2 separate regions of the Homo sapiens genome follow, and region 2 is linked to region 1. The links are contacts of gene promoters, found by promoter capture Hi-C in human tissues and cell types (Jung and others, 2019). All regions are on one chromosome and are shown on one strand. The core of a region is centred on a gene start or on the middle of the fragment in contact, and the rest is flanking DNA. Distances in the headings are between cores, read along the strand shown. Region 1 holds the start of MEOX2 (mesenchyme homeobox 2). Region 2 overlaps MEOX2 (mesenchyme homeobox 2).

What was found. Contacts are between HindIII fragments. The study calls those that stand out against the background at their distance.
Region 2: a contact is called between a fragment that was not itself captured here and the fragment with the promoter of MEOX2 in region 1, in 1 of the 25 tissues and cell types used here (lymphoblastoid cells).

What each region holds. Positions count from the first base shown.
Region 1 is chr7:15,682,112-15,689,810 of GRCh38, forward strand. It overlaps MEOX2 (mesenchyme homeobox 2), which reads right to left and starts at 4,572. Exons shown (of 3, transcript NM_005924.5): 1 at 3,775-4,572. The coding sequence starts at 4,291. LINC02587 (long intergenic non-protein coding RNA 2587) reads left to right here and starts at 6,267. Exons shown (of 2, transcript NR_110094.1): 1 at 6,267-6,341. RefSeq lists an enhancer at 2,936-3,768. The HindIII fragment of the contact is 7,827 bases long and covers 3,078-7,699 here.
Region 2 is chr7:15,633,566-15,641,264 of GRCh38, forward strand. The region is part of intron 1 of MEOX2 (mesenchyme homeobox 2); the gene reads right to left. Among named protein-coding and RNA genes, the nearest start is that of MEOX2, 49 kb to the right of the region's middle. The HindIII fragment of the contact is 6,891 bases long and covers 1,693-7,699 here.

The DNA of each region.
Region 1 (7,699 bases), core at 3,322-5,821:
CAGTCCAAGATAAAGAATGGAAGTTTTTTTTTGTACTCCATTTGATTTGTTCAATACTTCACTTTAATCTTCAAGATCCAGTATATTATTTTTTAAATTCTAAAGCAAATGCTGAAAAGCCACAATCCAGTAACACAGAAATGAATAATAACACTAATTTATTCCTTTCAGAAAACACAATGATTGAAATATCTTGGAAATATTACAATATCATACTGAATGAGGTTGATAAGGTATTACTCTGAGTTTAAGTTCCAACTTATTAAATGTAATATTTGCTAGTCATTCTGCATAGTCAAGCATATAGACAGACATAATTTGACAGCAAAGGTTTTATGACATAGTAGCTATAAATAAAATATTTGTAATTTTACAAGAATCTAATATGATTCAAAACCTAGTAAAGTCTACCTCCCCAAATCGCTCTTTTCTTTTTTGATGTAATTTCTATTTTTTATAAAATATGTATCATAAATTTGAATAGAAAATATCTAGATATGTACACTGTATAACCATGCACAAAAGCTAAAGTTCGATCAATGAATTAATTTTAGTTATTTTAACTAAAACTGGGCAGTTTATTCCTACTACTAGATTGCTCAAAGAGCAACCAAATGTAATTGAAGCCAAGCAATTCACACTATTTATAGACATTTTTCAGAATCACCTGCTTTGTAGTGATTTTTTTCAGCAGTTGTAAAGTTTTGATTTTTAAGAGTCCCTTTGAAGACGTGGCAGATGTTGGCTTTGCTAATAATGCTGGAAAGCGTAGCAGGTTCAAAGTTACAAAAATGTTTAACACATATAAAATATAATGGTGTGTTTTTCTATTAAATTTGGTTATTTTCAATTGTCAATAAACTTACATAAAGGAAGCCTAAAGTCCATAAATATTTGCTTCCAAAACATGAAGCTGCTAGAGTTTGCATATGTGTGTGTCCATGTGCATTTGTGGAGGGAAAGTGCATAAAATATATGCTAGAGAAGCTTACGTATTATAGTTTTAAATCGTTACTATGAATAAAATTGTAAGGTTTATAAATATTTAAGCTGTTTTTCAATACTTTCTGGTGCTTAAAATTCTATTAGAATTTAACACGGTAATTAGAATTAGCACATACACATACAGTCTAAGTATTAGATGCAGGGATACAGAATTTTGGTCCTGACTTTACCCTGGATTTATGTACTGAATTTTCTCTCAACCATAAATGCAAAGTAATTATAAACTACCTAACAAAATACAAATGATCTCACTATATAGGATGACATTTTTATCTAATACAATTTTAAATTTCAGGAGTTCCGAAATCACTTCAATTTTATATTTTAGAAATATTGAAATACTAAAATGTGCTATAAGCAATGAGAGATATACGTATTAATAGCATACCAGGATCATAATCATTTTCAATATTGTTTTAGTTTGTGCTAGATCAAGATGTCTATGAAATAAAATATCTTTGAAGATAATTTATGGAACACCTAATGCAATTGTTACACGAGAAAGATATCTTTAATTTAAATCTATCTCAATATCTGACAAATATACCTTCAGCTGAAATTGGCAAATAAAATTTTATTTTCAATAAGTGTACATAGATTTAAACAGAAACTATTGTGATTTTCCTTTTAGTCAATATTTCTTCAACATATCAAAGGAAAGAAAAGCTCATTCTAAATCCCCAGTATTTTTATCCTTGGTGATGACTAATTGTACTTTCCACTGAAGTTTTAATCTGTTAATAATTTATGTAGCTGACACAAACACTTATATTTGCTTGTTTTTCCAGTACCCTCATTATCAGCTTCAAAATGTAGAAATGAATTTAATTTTGTTAAATGGTTATTTCCCACTAAGTTGGGGGGGAGAGATAAATTAGTTTTGTTAAATTATTCCATTTTTTAAAAAAATTATTAAAATAAATTAAGGGAATCAGTTATTGAATTCCGTTTTCTCAGTTTTCCCCAAACAAAATAACATGTGCTTGTATGAAAATTGTTTGCCCTGAGAAACTTAAGGGCAATGGCTCAGTTCAGGAAGCATGAAGAACAATCTATCATGTAGGTTTCTCATTGCAAGAAATAAAATGAACCGTAAGAGCTTATGGGAATTGCAAGAGTACGCTCATCAACCCGAACTGGGATCTGCTTCCAAAGTTACACTGATATCAAATGTTCAGTTTATGAAATTGTCACTGCATTCTAAAATCGACTGTTTTTCTAATAAAAATTGAAACCTTTTTGCTATGATTAACCTTTCAACTCACTATCTAAAGAGAGTTTCACTTATAGTTAGGAAAATACATTAAATATCAGTGACACTACTGGTAATTTTCTTATAAAAACTAATTTGTGATGGAACATTAAAAGTTCACCCCCTGACCTTGGAAAATAAAAGTTAGCTTTTGAGACCGTGAGAGAAGAATCCATCCTATAGTAACGCTGAAGAACAATTGATATTGCTGTGAATGGTGAAGGAATATTAAATATGCGGCCAATCATTTTCATTTATGTGGCATCTTACCTAAAGCTTTACACACGATCAACATTTTTCCAATCCTTCAAACCAACATATGGGATTACCTTCTAGGACTATTATTAACCCAATTCCACAGAGGAAGAAAAATATGCAAATATTATATTAAACAAATGACACCTTCCAAAAGTATTTAATCCAGGTTGCACTATACCCACGAAAGAAAACTCACAAGTCTCTTAATTTTAAAGTATCTTTTAACAATTTTATAAAAATACAGGTAGGTAAGAGCTTTGAAAACTTGTCTGGAAACTTTGAGTTTCTCTGGATTGCTACAATTTATTCGGCACGTTGTGCCTTCAAGCACCAGAGGTCAGGAAGGTTCCCCTTTTGCATGGCTGCTCAAATTATCCCCACTGAAATCAGCGCCTCCTGCGCGCACCCTTGCATACCCCTTTAGACACGTATCTAACTAACAGTACCCGAGTTGCTGTTGCTTCGCAGTATTTGTCTCTACTAATACCCACTTGGTAGAGGGATTTATTTTCCACTTTTGAAACTTAGGTTCTGTAATTAGCTTACACCACATGGACATGTACTATTAAGGTTCGTCTTTCTTCCAGTGTGAGCATCTATTTATTTACAATTCTCTGACACATTCCTTAAAATCTGAATTCCTAGATAATGTCTTCTTCCCCAATAAAGGGAAAATTTTACCATTTGAAATAGGGTGCTATTTAAAGAACGCTGAAATAAGAATGTTAAAAAAAAAAAACTGAAACTTTTTTTTCTCATGCGCTCTGCCAAGTTCCATTGCAAGTTCCAAACATTGTGCAATAATTTGGAAATCCAGTTAACGATGGGAAAAATCGAGCCACTCAGAGTCGGCAACTTGCAAGAGAAAAGTCAAGAAGCGGCACCCGCACGCACGCCTGCCCAACGGACGCTGCATCCCTGGGCGCACGCCCCTCCCTCCCCAGCGCTGGGATGGAAGGTCACGCTTCACAATCGATTTCACAGCCACTTGTCCTTTTTTATCAACCTTCTGGTAAACTAGTTTAGGACTTTGGAGGGCTTAGAGCTGCTGGCTGTATACGCATTGCTCTCGAATAAACACGTGTCCCCAAATATCAGGACCAAAGCTTCACCGCCGAATTTGGCCGCAGGAAGCCACAGAGGGCAACACATTCCCATCTTCCCTGCTGCCACCCTCCAGTGCGAGAATCTCCCCTAGTATCTCTCCGCCCCTTTTCCAGCCCGGCGCGCACTCTCGAGGGTGCCTGGCGCGCCCTTACCTGAGCTGTCGCTTTTCCTCTTGCCGCCGCTTCGCTTCTCCGCCTCCGCAGGTGACAGTGCCTGGCGGCCGTAGTCCCCCGGCGCGCACGCGGCCCCAGTCGGGGTGCTGGAGCCCAAGCTGGAAGAGTTGGAGCACAGGACGGGCGGGCTGCTCCCCAACTCTGGGGGCCCTCCAGAGTCGGGCTGGAGGCAGAGGCTGTGCCGAGCCGCACTCGGTGGGGAAGACATCTGCGGGAGGTGCCAGTTGGTTTGCAGAGCCTGGTGCTGCTGCTGCTGATGGTGGTGATGGTGGTGGTGGTGGTGGTGGTGGTGGTGCCCCCTGTGATGCTGGCTGGCAAACATGCCCTCTTCGTTGGGGTATCCCGCGATTATGCAAGATGAGGAAGAAGTAGAGAGCTCGGGGTAAGACATATGGTCAGATCTTCCATGGAGGGCGAGAGAGGATTGGGAGAACGGGTGCAAGCCTTGCGCCGTGGCGTGAGGGCTGCGCAGGCAGCCAAAGAGCGGGTGTTCCATAGCATGCAAGTTTCGGGTTCCAGGCAGAAGACTTCACGGCGGTTCCAAAGGCCACCACCCTCTGTCACTTTTTCACTGGAAACCGTGTGATTTTTTTTTTAACCTCCCAAAGCAATAGCGGTGCACTTCTGCAGAGCTCGGATAATCCCGGTCCTGAGCCCCAGCGGCCAGTCTCCTTTACATATGAACAGTCGGACCTGGAAGAGCTTCCCTGAGCTACTCAGATGTCAAGAGTGGGAGAGGTTGAAGCCAAAAGAAGGTGGTCCCAGAGAACTGCTTTCAGGGGGAAATGGCTCTGAGAAGTTATAAATAGAGTGTAACGTGAGCTGGGGGCTGGCTTAGGAGCCCAGAGTTGACCACATGCAAACTCCCTCCAAAACTCCCGCTCAGCCTGCGCCACGCGCTCCCAGTTCCACTTCCTATCTCCTGCTGGACGGACGTAGAGCGTCCACGCCCGCCCAGCACTGCCGGCTGCCAGGACTACAAGCGGCACGCCAACGTCTAAGTCCCGCCCGGGAGGGCAGCAGCTCTGCCCTCCAGACTCTGGAGGCCTGGGCGCGGCGCACACCACCCCCAACCTAGCACCCTGATTCCTACCTACTCACTTTCCTCTCGGGGAAACGTGACTTGTCAGTGTCATTTGGGAACTGTCACCTGCAGAAAAGCTAGGGATACGCCTATCCTTTCAGGAACACGAAAGAAGTAATAGGGTTAAAGGAAAAGACCAGAGCTAGTTTGGCGCACCCTCGAAGTTTTTCAAACTTTGCATCTTCCCGTGCCCCGGGCGCCGCAGCGCGCCTAGGTTTTCGCAGCTGGTTTCTGTCGGTGGGTTGTTAATAGGCTGGGACGCCAGATCTGAGGTTGCGGGGATGAGCACCATGGCCTGGAAAAGGCGGTTCTCAGTGCAGAAAGAAGACGGACCTGGTTGGGTGGGTGGGAGGAAGGCGTGAGTCTGAAAGGGTTGCAGATGCCTGCTCCCTGGCATCCTCACGTGCGATGCCAGGTGGAGGCTCCCTTCCCCCTCTTTCCCGGTCCCGCTCAATTTCCTAGCCACTTGTCCACCAAGAAGAACTTTTCCTGGGTCAAGAATATTTCCAAGCGATTGTGTCCCGGTCATATGAGATGTGTAGATTGCACGCGCATTTCTAGCCTTTCCCCTCAGGAGCTAGCCCAGATCTCCTCGGTTTCCTCCAGAAATCCACTCTCTTCTGCTCAAAAATAAATCCGCTAATGCATTCCTTACCACCAGGGTTCCATTTACTGAGAATTCTTACATTTCGATAGCTCCCAAAATTCACTCACCGTGGGCACTTGGTTACAATTTTGCACCCCTGAAAATAAAATAGAAAACTCGCCTCTAGTAAGCATGCGAGAGCGAGGGCAGGGCTTTGAAGCTGCTACTTGCTTGGCGGGCGACAGGGTCCGCTGGGGGCAGAGTCGTTTACACACAAGTGAGTGGCGCTGTAATGAGCAGGAGGAACAGTCATGTCCCATCTGCGACCTGTCGCATCAGGAGAATATCTGTAGTCACCTATTCTGCCCGGGGCCCCAAATGCGCCACCAGCAGTGTCGCCCCGTTTTTTCATTGTCTCAGGTGTCCAGAGGATGATGACCAGGTCTTTGAAGTTGTTAGTGGGATTAATGGGTACAGCAAACTGGGCTAGACATCTGGTTTGAATTAGGAAAAAGCATTGATTAATCTTTGAGAGGTGTCCCCAAAGCAGAACCTTTCCCCTCCTCTTCCAGTCCCCTTGCTTAAGCCTCACTATCTTCTTTTCTTTTAAGTCACACTGCAGAATAGTGGCTTCGCAATAACATCCGTGTGAAAGATCGAATTGTTTTCTATTGCTCAGAGGTGGGGTGGAGTGGGGGTTGATCAGGAATTCTGAGATTTGTAAGCGCTGCTTTCTTTAACGGAAATTGAGCTCTATTTTGAGGGAAATTAGTTTTGCAGACTTCGTTTAAAAAAAAAAAAAAACTAAATCTTTTGTTCACCAGCTGCTCAGCTTTTCAGTCTGGGTCTGAGCTGAAACCTGCTGCAAGTCTGACGGTAAGACTTTCTTTGCCGATATTTTGGGAATCTAATATTGTTTTAGACTTCGAAAAGGGGTGTTGTTCAGGTTGCACGTTTCTAGGGGCTTTAAGCACTCGCAGGATGGCGTCCAGGACTTAGATCTTGAGAATATCTCTTCCTGCCACTCCCCACGCCCTTGGCTCTTTAAGAATAAAAAGAGGTGGGGGAGTTATAGTCCTCCAATATCGTCGGAATATTTTTTTGTATTTTCATTGTGTTTATGGTTTCAATATGTGCTCTGATATTAAAAGTTAAAGTACAAAGAGCAACACTAAACTTCCCCAACTCATGTAGCTTCTCTATGGATTCTGGGTGAAAGCATTAAAGGCTTTATTTAAAGTGAGATTTAGGCAACCACCTCAATAAACCTAACCAGAAATATTTACATAATATAATGCTGTCAACTAAAAGCATTGTGGAAAATGTCAGACAAGACAGACTAAAATTACTCATGATCTGCAGACATCAGTACAAAACATCCACAACGGTCCTTTTGGTTTGCATTACATTGGTTTAGAGGAAGCTAAGCAATTACTAAATGAATGGATTTGAATTTAACCAGTGTGTTGCAGGTAACCAGCAACAAGCACACACAAACCTTTCATCTCCCGAGGCTGCCACTTCTTCTTAAACCTGCCCAGTGACTGTGCTGGATTTTTTCTCACTCACTGTGTCAGATGTTAACAACCTGTCCAGAAGTTTCTCTACAACCTGCCCCAGTCAGTCAGCCTCTAGAACTGTGGGGCCAGAAACCTGGGAAGAAAAATTTAAGAAAGGTTAGAAAAGGAGGAAGTCATTCCAAAGGCATGCAATGAAAACAAAGCTAGCAAGAAAGGTCTTTTTAATTGAAGACACAGAACATTTAATATCAGCAAAAATTATGATGTCCAGTTTTCTTATAGAAAACAGAATATAAGGAAAATATTTGGAAGGAAAAAATGAAGGACTAAAAAGGACGTCTTGGTGAATTCCAGAATTAAATATAACTTTAATTTTCTCTGGATTTCTAAATATGTATTAATCATTACATAAAGATTTTTAAATTTTATTAGAATATTTGGAATAAGATAGAATATTGAATTTTATGTTCTAGGTTATAGAGAAATTTTTAAAATGTAGTAACAACGGGAAAAAAATCCCTAGCATTTCCTATAATAGCTACTTCAGTGTTCACATCCATAAAATCCAATATTGAAAAGATGCCTTTTTACCTAATGATATCAAGAAGAATGGTAAAAATTATAAAATTTATTATAAAATTTCTATATAACAATCATTTACAACTATGTATGATATAGTATTTATCCTACATTTATAATATACTTGAGTTTTCC
Region 2 (7,699 bases), core at 3,888-6,387, 48 kb before region 1:
ACATGCAACAGGAAAACTTCCATGGAGTTTTTTATTTATATTATGAAAGACAAGTCCACACCTTCTCAGAGTGTAAGGACTAGCATTTATGCTGTAATTCTGAGCCATTTCTTTAGCAAGTCATCATAGTCGCTTTAATGTATTTTTAAGCAGTGATGTAGAAATTATTGAACTTTTCATTTATTTTCATGTCTGCTTTGCTTCTCTGGACTCTAGACTCTGGGTAACTTATGAGTATGAATTTTGTCTTCCTCATCTTTGTATTTCTAATACTAAATACCTACTATTCTGCTGTATCTTTGACTTTACGATCTGATTATAGATTATAATTACAAAGATAACCCTAAGGAGCCTTGTTCTGGCATAGAAATTTAACTGACCTTCAGCTTAGAAAAAGGAAAAGTATCATTTATTATTGCTTTCTATTAACTTTTAAGACATGTTTACACATATCTCGTGTAACTAATGGCAGACAAGTAATGTTATCTTCATTCTATATTTATAACGATATCTCCAAACATGTTTACATAGAAAAGTACCAAATCAGTCTCCCTATTATAAAATTTGAAACCAAAATCATTGAATGTTATACGAAGTGAAGGAACATATTGCCCAGAGATTATAGTTCTGAACCTCAGCACTATTGACATTTTGGATTGGATAATTCTTGTTACATTTGTATTCAATGAAACATAAACATATTCAAAATAAAGATGTCCTGTGTGAGGTGGGGACAGTTCTGGGCTTTGTAGAATGTTTAGAACATCCCTGGCTTCTACTCACTGGATGCTTGTAGCAAACCTCAACCCTAATTTTAGTGTTGTCAGATAAAATATGGTTCTCCCAGTCCAATTTGAATTTCAGACAAACAATAAATAAAGTTTTAGTATGTTACAAATATTACACAAAGCATACTTGTATTTTAAAATGTTTATTGTTGTATGAAAATTCTAATTCAACCAGATATCTGTAGTTTAATTGGTTAAATCTGGCAATCCTAAATTGCCAATGTACTCCATGGGGAAAAATTGCTCCCAGTAGAGAATCATTGCATATAGATAATATTTGGATGAAGACATCAATAACTTTCAGTTATACAACTCTTTTTAGGAATGACCAACATGATTCATAAGTTGCACGCATTATTTATGTGTAAATAATCCCACCTTTATACTGTGGTCACGCCTTGTCTCCTCCAAGCCAATGACGAGATTATTTGCAGATAAAATTGTTCAAGAAGAGATTTTGTCAGTGCTAATTCACCCAAAATATAACTGCAGAATAAGTGACTCTAACTTCAGAGGATTATCCACATGGAACAGTAAAATGACACATATGGCATCACCATAGAAATTACCATGTTCCTAAGCCATCCCTTAGAGGTGTGAGAGTTTCAGTAAATTTCAGAGGGAAGTATTATGTTTCTACAATGCATCAAAGCACATAAGCACTAATAATAAATCAACTATTTGATTACATCCATATCATTTAATTAAATACTGACTGAATTAATAAATATTAACTTTGTAGGCATGCATTTTAGAAATTGAGGAGATTCTTACAAACCGTCTATTTCCACCTGCTCTCTACCTGAGAAAAGTGAGGCTCAAAGTGGCTGAAGGGCTCACCAATGGTCACAGATAGTCACAGAATGTTCCTAGGCCTAAGTGTCATTCAGCTTCAGAAACCAACAGGAATACATTTTATGAACTCCTGAAATATCCTTTACCTACTGCATGGCCTTTTCACAACAAGGATTTGAGGACCACTGCCATTTAATTGTGATACTAAATATGGTTATGAAACCTAAAATACTCAAACAGAATCTTGAGTACCAAACATTCCAAATACACAGATATTAAGAGCATCCTCTCTGCTCCTTATCTGCTTATTCAACCCCTATTGTCTCCCCTGTGCTCATCTTTAACACAGACTTTAAGTGAAGAGGGTTAAATTAAGCAAATCATGTAGAACAATGCCTACATATTACGGGCACTCAATAATCAATTGTAAACTCTAGCCGTTATTAGGAGAGGACTGTGGTCCAAGGCCTTAGCAATTGAAAATTATGCATTTGATAAAATCATGTGTTATAATTAGTTTTTTTAAAATGTAGGAAAATTTTGTTTTTAAAATGGACCTCAATCTAAAAATCTAAGAATTTAGGAATTTACACAGTGACTAGCAGAGTTCCACTTTACATTGAAAAATGGTTGGGCCCCTAAAAGTATCTATGTGTTATTTTTGGCTAATGTACAAACGAAGCTGAAAGTTTAATTACAATTTTCCAAGGAACCTGGGGAGGTGACACTTTACAAGGCTTAGTGGTATCAGTGTATGAAATTGTATTTCCTCTGCAAGTTTTATTTGGAAATTCAGTGAAACATAACCAAACCTGGCATACCCAATAAAACGGAGTCAGATAGTGTGCTTGTGTTTGTGTGGGTATGTGTGTTTCTTCTCTTTTAGAGTCCTGTCAAACAGGTACATAAATGTAGGAAGATAGGAGTCACATTCTGCCTAGTGGTTAAAGTATTAAAAAAAGTTTAATTAATACTTCTAAATGGATTTTTAGAAGACCAAGATAAGAAGTATTTACTGAAAACACTTACAAGCCGATTCTCTTAAATGTTGTGCTGTTATTTACTTAGAAATTTTCTCTAATTATGAGTTTCTTCATATAGAGGGTTTGAGAAAAAAAATCCCTTAGATATTTTTTCTGAAATAATCATATCGGAAGATTAATGACCAAGAATTTATAAATTGATTTTGCTTTGGTTTCAAAGTATAATAAACAAATTATAAACAATAATAAATAATGCATAAAGGTAATGAAATAAAACTTATTATAAAATACCAAACAACATAGGGTTCTAGCTCAGGCATCAGTTTCCTTTTGACTGCGCTAGTGAAGTTAAATTCTTGTGATCTGTTACATGATTGTAGCTGTATTGGCAAGAAGGAAAACAATCTCAGGCTGACGAATCTGCATTATAATCAAATTGTGATTGTTTTTTGCAAAGATTTTCCCAATTAGAGAGCATCTGAATCATTTCTTTGGAGATCTTAAATTCAATTATACATGCCATATAGAAATTTAAGAACATAAATGTAATTATTATCTGCCTCAGTCCATTTTGTGCTGCTATAACAGAATACCTGAGTGAATAATTTATTTTAAAAAACCAGAAATTTATTTCCTACAATCCTAGAGGCTGAGAAGAAGTGCACGATCAAGGCAGCAACATCTGGTGAGTGCTTTCTGGCTGCATCCTTAATGGCAAAAGGCAGAAGGGCAAAAGAGCGTGATCCCATTCATATAAGCCCTTTTCATAGTGGCATTAATCCATTCATGGGAGTGAAATCCTCATGACCTAAACACCTCCCAAAAGGCCTCACCTGCCAGCACTGTTGCCCTGGGGATCAAGTTTTCAACACGTGAATTTTGGGAAACACATTCAGACCATAGAATTATCCATTTATTTATGATATTTTAGAGACTAACTTTAATATTCTGTTGGGTAAATTATACTAGGAAAATAATTTCACTGAAGTCTGAAATGTTTTTTAAAATCATACTTAATTTCATATTAGTTTAAATGTGAAAAATGTCCTACACCTATTTCTGATCTCTGCCAAGATAGTATATAATGATACGGCATTAAGTTTCTGTGAATGTGAAGCTTTCATCTAGGTCTTACAGATAATCCTTGGGTTGTAATTGCATAACAAATTCAGGCACTCAAAACTCACATACGTCATAGGTTACATCTTATAATTTCTGAAATGATTCATAAGTTTCTTCCAGTTAGATATTAGATAGCATTCAGTATTCCATTACATGGTGGAGAGAAAGGGACTTGAAGCATACACATTTTTGTTTTACTGAACACGTGTGCTACCACCCACAAAAAGAGGATGTGCTTACTCCTAAAATGTAATTTTCCAATACACACACACACACACGCACACACACACGCACACACACACATAAAACATACCATCTGCTAATCTTGCAATACTTCTCAATAAGCAGAAAAATCTTAGTAGTATCCAGTTTTTAAAGTTTTTCATTGATTAAACAGAATTGTAGTTATAATTATAGCTCTATAACTTGTACAGTTCTGTTTACAACTCTAGTTATTTAGAAGGAAAGAGTGGCTGGGGAACATATCGGGGCTTTGAAGCCAGCAGACTTGGGTTGGATATCAGTTGTTGCTACTTACTGTGTGGTCTTCTGAGGCTGGTTTTTGAAATTCAGATTCCCCATCTAAGAATCCACAGGATTGTTGAAAATAGGAGAATTAGAGAATTTAAAGTGTGTATATCTGAGATATAGTATCAATTCAATAATACAAACCTACTATTAGTAATATTAAACTTAAAATGTACCAGGAGTAGGATGGTACTGTTACATTTATTAGCCTTTTCTAAGTCAAATTTATTAGTTTACATATTTCATTTGAATCATTTAACTTTCATTTGACACGTAACATTTAGTGAAATACACCTTTATTTCATTTTTAGTGATCTTGAACTTAGTAAAAAGATGATTTTTATTTTCTAGCTCTTTCCACCCCTGTGTATTTTAAAAGATCCACAATCCTCATAATTTCTTTAAGCAATCAGCAAGAGTTGTGTATGATTACTTTTTAAAAAGTTAATAGGTTGTGAAAGTCTGTATGCTTTTATTTCTTTCATGTTTTATAGCTTTGCTGCTAAAAATTGCAGTCTAGTTTAAAGCATAAATTATTTTTCTGAGTGCAATTAAATGGCATTATCTTTTATTTATGTACGTTTGTATGTGCATGGGCATATATATTTACAGTTAACACACTTAAAATACTTTGTTTTATTTAGTCTTCATTGGTCTCATATGCATTTAGTCTAATTCATGCAAATTTTGTGCATATGTAAAACATTTCTAGATCTTCTTTATTTTTTAGGTTCAGAGGCGTACATGTGATGGTCTGTTACGTAGGTATATTGCATAATCGTAAGGTTTGGGCTTCTAGTGAACCCATCACCTAAATAGTGAACATGGTAGTATTTTTTACCCTCTCCTCCTTCTCTCTCTCCCCTTTTGGAATCCCCAGGGTCTATTATTTCCATCTTTGTGTCCATGTGTGCCTATCGTTTAGCTTCCACTTGTAAGTGAGAACATGTGTATTTCATTTCTTTCTGAGTTATTTCACTTAAGATAAAGGCCTCCAACTCCATCTCTACTGCTGTAGAGGACAGGATTTGATACCTTTTTTATGGCTCCATAATATTCCATGGTGCATATATATCACAATTTCTTTACGCGATCAACTGTTGATGGACATTTAGGTTGATTCCATAAATTTGCTATTGTGAATAGTGCTGTGATAAACATGATAAAAACAGGTGACTTTTTGATACAATTATTCCTTTCCCTTTGGGTAGATACCCGGTAGTGGAATTGCTGGGTGAAATTATAGTTCTTTTTATAGCTGAGAAATCTCCATACTGTTTTCTATAGGATATAAGCTAATTTACATTCCCACCAACGGTGTAAAAGTATTCACTTTTCTCCACATCCTCACCATCTGTTATTTTTTTGACTTTTTAATAATAGCCATTCTGACTGGTATGAGATGGTATCTCATAGGGGTTTTTATTTGTATTTCACTGATGATTTGTGATGTTGAGCATGTTTTCATATGTTTATTAGCAACTTGTATGTCTTCTTTTGAGAAGTATGTGTTCATGTCCTTTTTCTACTTTATAATGGGGTTGTCTGTCATTTTCTTGTGGATTTGTTTAAGTTCTTTATATATTCTGGATATTAGTCTTTTGTTGGATGCAGAGTTTTTGAATATTTTCTTCCAGTTTCTAGGTTTTCTGATTATTCAATTGATTGTGTCTTTTGCTGTGCAGAAGCTCTTTAGTTTAATAAGTCCCATTTGTCTGCTTTTGTTTTTGGTGCATTTTCTTTTGAGGTCTTAATCTAAAGGCCAGTTTCTAAAAAAGTTCTTCCTAGATTTTCCTCTTTTTTTTATAGTTTTGGGTCTTATGTTTAGATCTTTGGTACATCTTCAGTTAATTTTTGTATATAGTGAGAGATAAGGTTCCAGTTTCATTCTTCTGCATGTAGCTAGCCAGTTTTCCCGGAACCATTTATTAAAAACGGTGTCTTTTCTCCATGTTTATTTTTGTTGACTTTGTTGGAGATCAGCTAGCATTAGGAGTGTGGCTTTATTTCTAGGCTCTCTATTCTGTTCCATTGATCTATGTGTCTATTGTACCAGTACCAAACTGTTTTGGTTACTAAAGCCTTCTAGTACCCTTTGAAGTCAGGTAATGTCATATCCCCAGTTTTGTTTGCTTTTGTTTTTTGTTTGTTTGTTTTGCTTACGATTGCTTTGGCTATTTGAGCTCTCTTTTTTGGTTCCATGTGGATTTTAGAATTGTTTTTCTAATTCTGTGAAAAATGACATTAGTAGTTTAATAGGAATTGTGTTGAATCTGTAGATCACTTTGGGCAAATATAGTCATTTTAATGATATTGATTCTTCCTATCCATGGGATGTTTTTCCATTTGTTTGTATTATCTATGATTCTATAATCAGTGCTTTGTAGTTCTCCTTGTAGAATTCTTTCACCTCCTTAGTTAGGTCTGTTCTAGGTTTGTTGTTGTTGCTGTTTGGGGGTTGTGTGTGTGTGTTTGTGTGTGTGTGTGTGTGTGTGTGTGTTTCTGGCTACCGTGAAGGAGACTGGGTCATTGATTCAGTTCTGAGATTGAGCACTGTTGTTGTATACAATGAAATTGATTTTTATACATTAATTTTGAATCCTGAAACTTTATTGAAGTTATTTTTCACATCTGGGAGTTTTTTGAAGGAATGTTTAGAGTTTTCCAGATATAAGATCATGACATCAGTAAACAGAGGTAAATTGACTTCCTTGTTTCAAATTTGAATGCCTTTTGTTTCTTTCGCTTGCCCTGCTAGGACTTTCAGTACTATGTTGAATGTTGAATAGCAATGGTGAGAGTGGGCATACTTTTCTTCTTTCAGTTATTAAAGGGAATGTTTTCAAATTTTCCCCATTCCGTATGATGTTAGTTGTGGGTTTGTCATACATGGCTCTTAGTATTTTGAAGTATGTTCCTTCAATGCCTGGTTTGTTGAGGGTTTTTATCATGAAGGATGCTGGATTTTAACAAATGCTTTTTCTGCATCTACTGAGATTATCATATGGTTTTTGTTTTTAATTCTGTTTACATAGTGAATCATATTTATTGAGTTGTGTATGTTGAACTATCCTTGCTTCCCTGGAATTAAACTAACTTGAACGTGATGAATTATCTTTTTTGATATGTTGCCAGATTTGGCTTCTTAGGATTTTCTTGAGAATTTTTGCATCTATGTTCATCAGAGATATTGGCTTATGATTTTATTTTTGTTGTTGTTGTTGTGGGTTTGCCATATTTTGATATCGTGGTAGGATGAGTTAGGAAGGAAACTCTCCTCCTTGATTTCTTGGAATAATTTCAGTAAGTTGGTACCACTTCTGTCTTGTATGTCTGGTAGAATTTGGCTATGAATCCATTTGGCCCTGGGCTTTTTTTAATTGGTAGATGTTTTTTATTACTGATTCAATTTCATAACTCATTATTTGTCTGTTCAGAATTTCAATGTCTTCCTGGTTCTCTCTTGGGAGATTGTATGTTTCA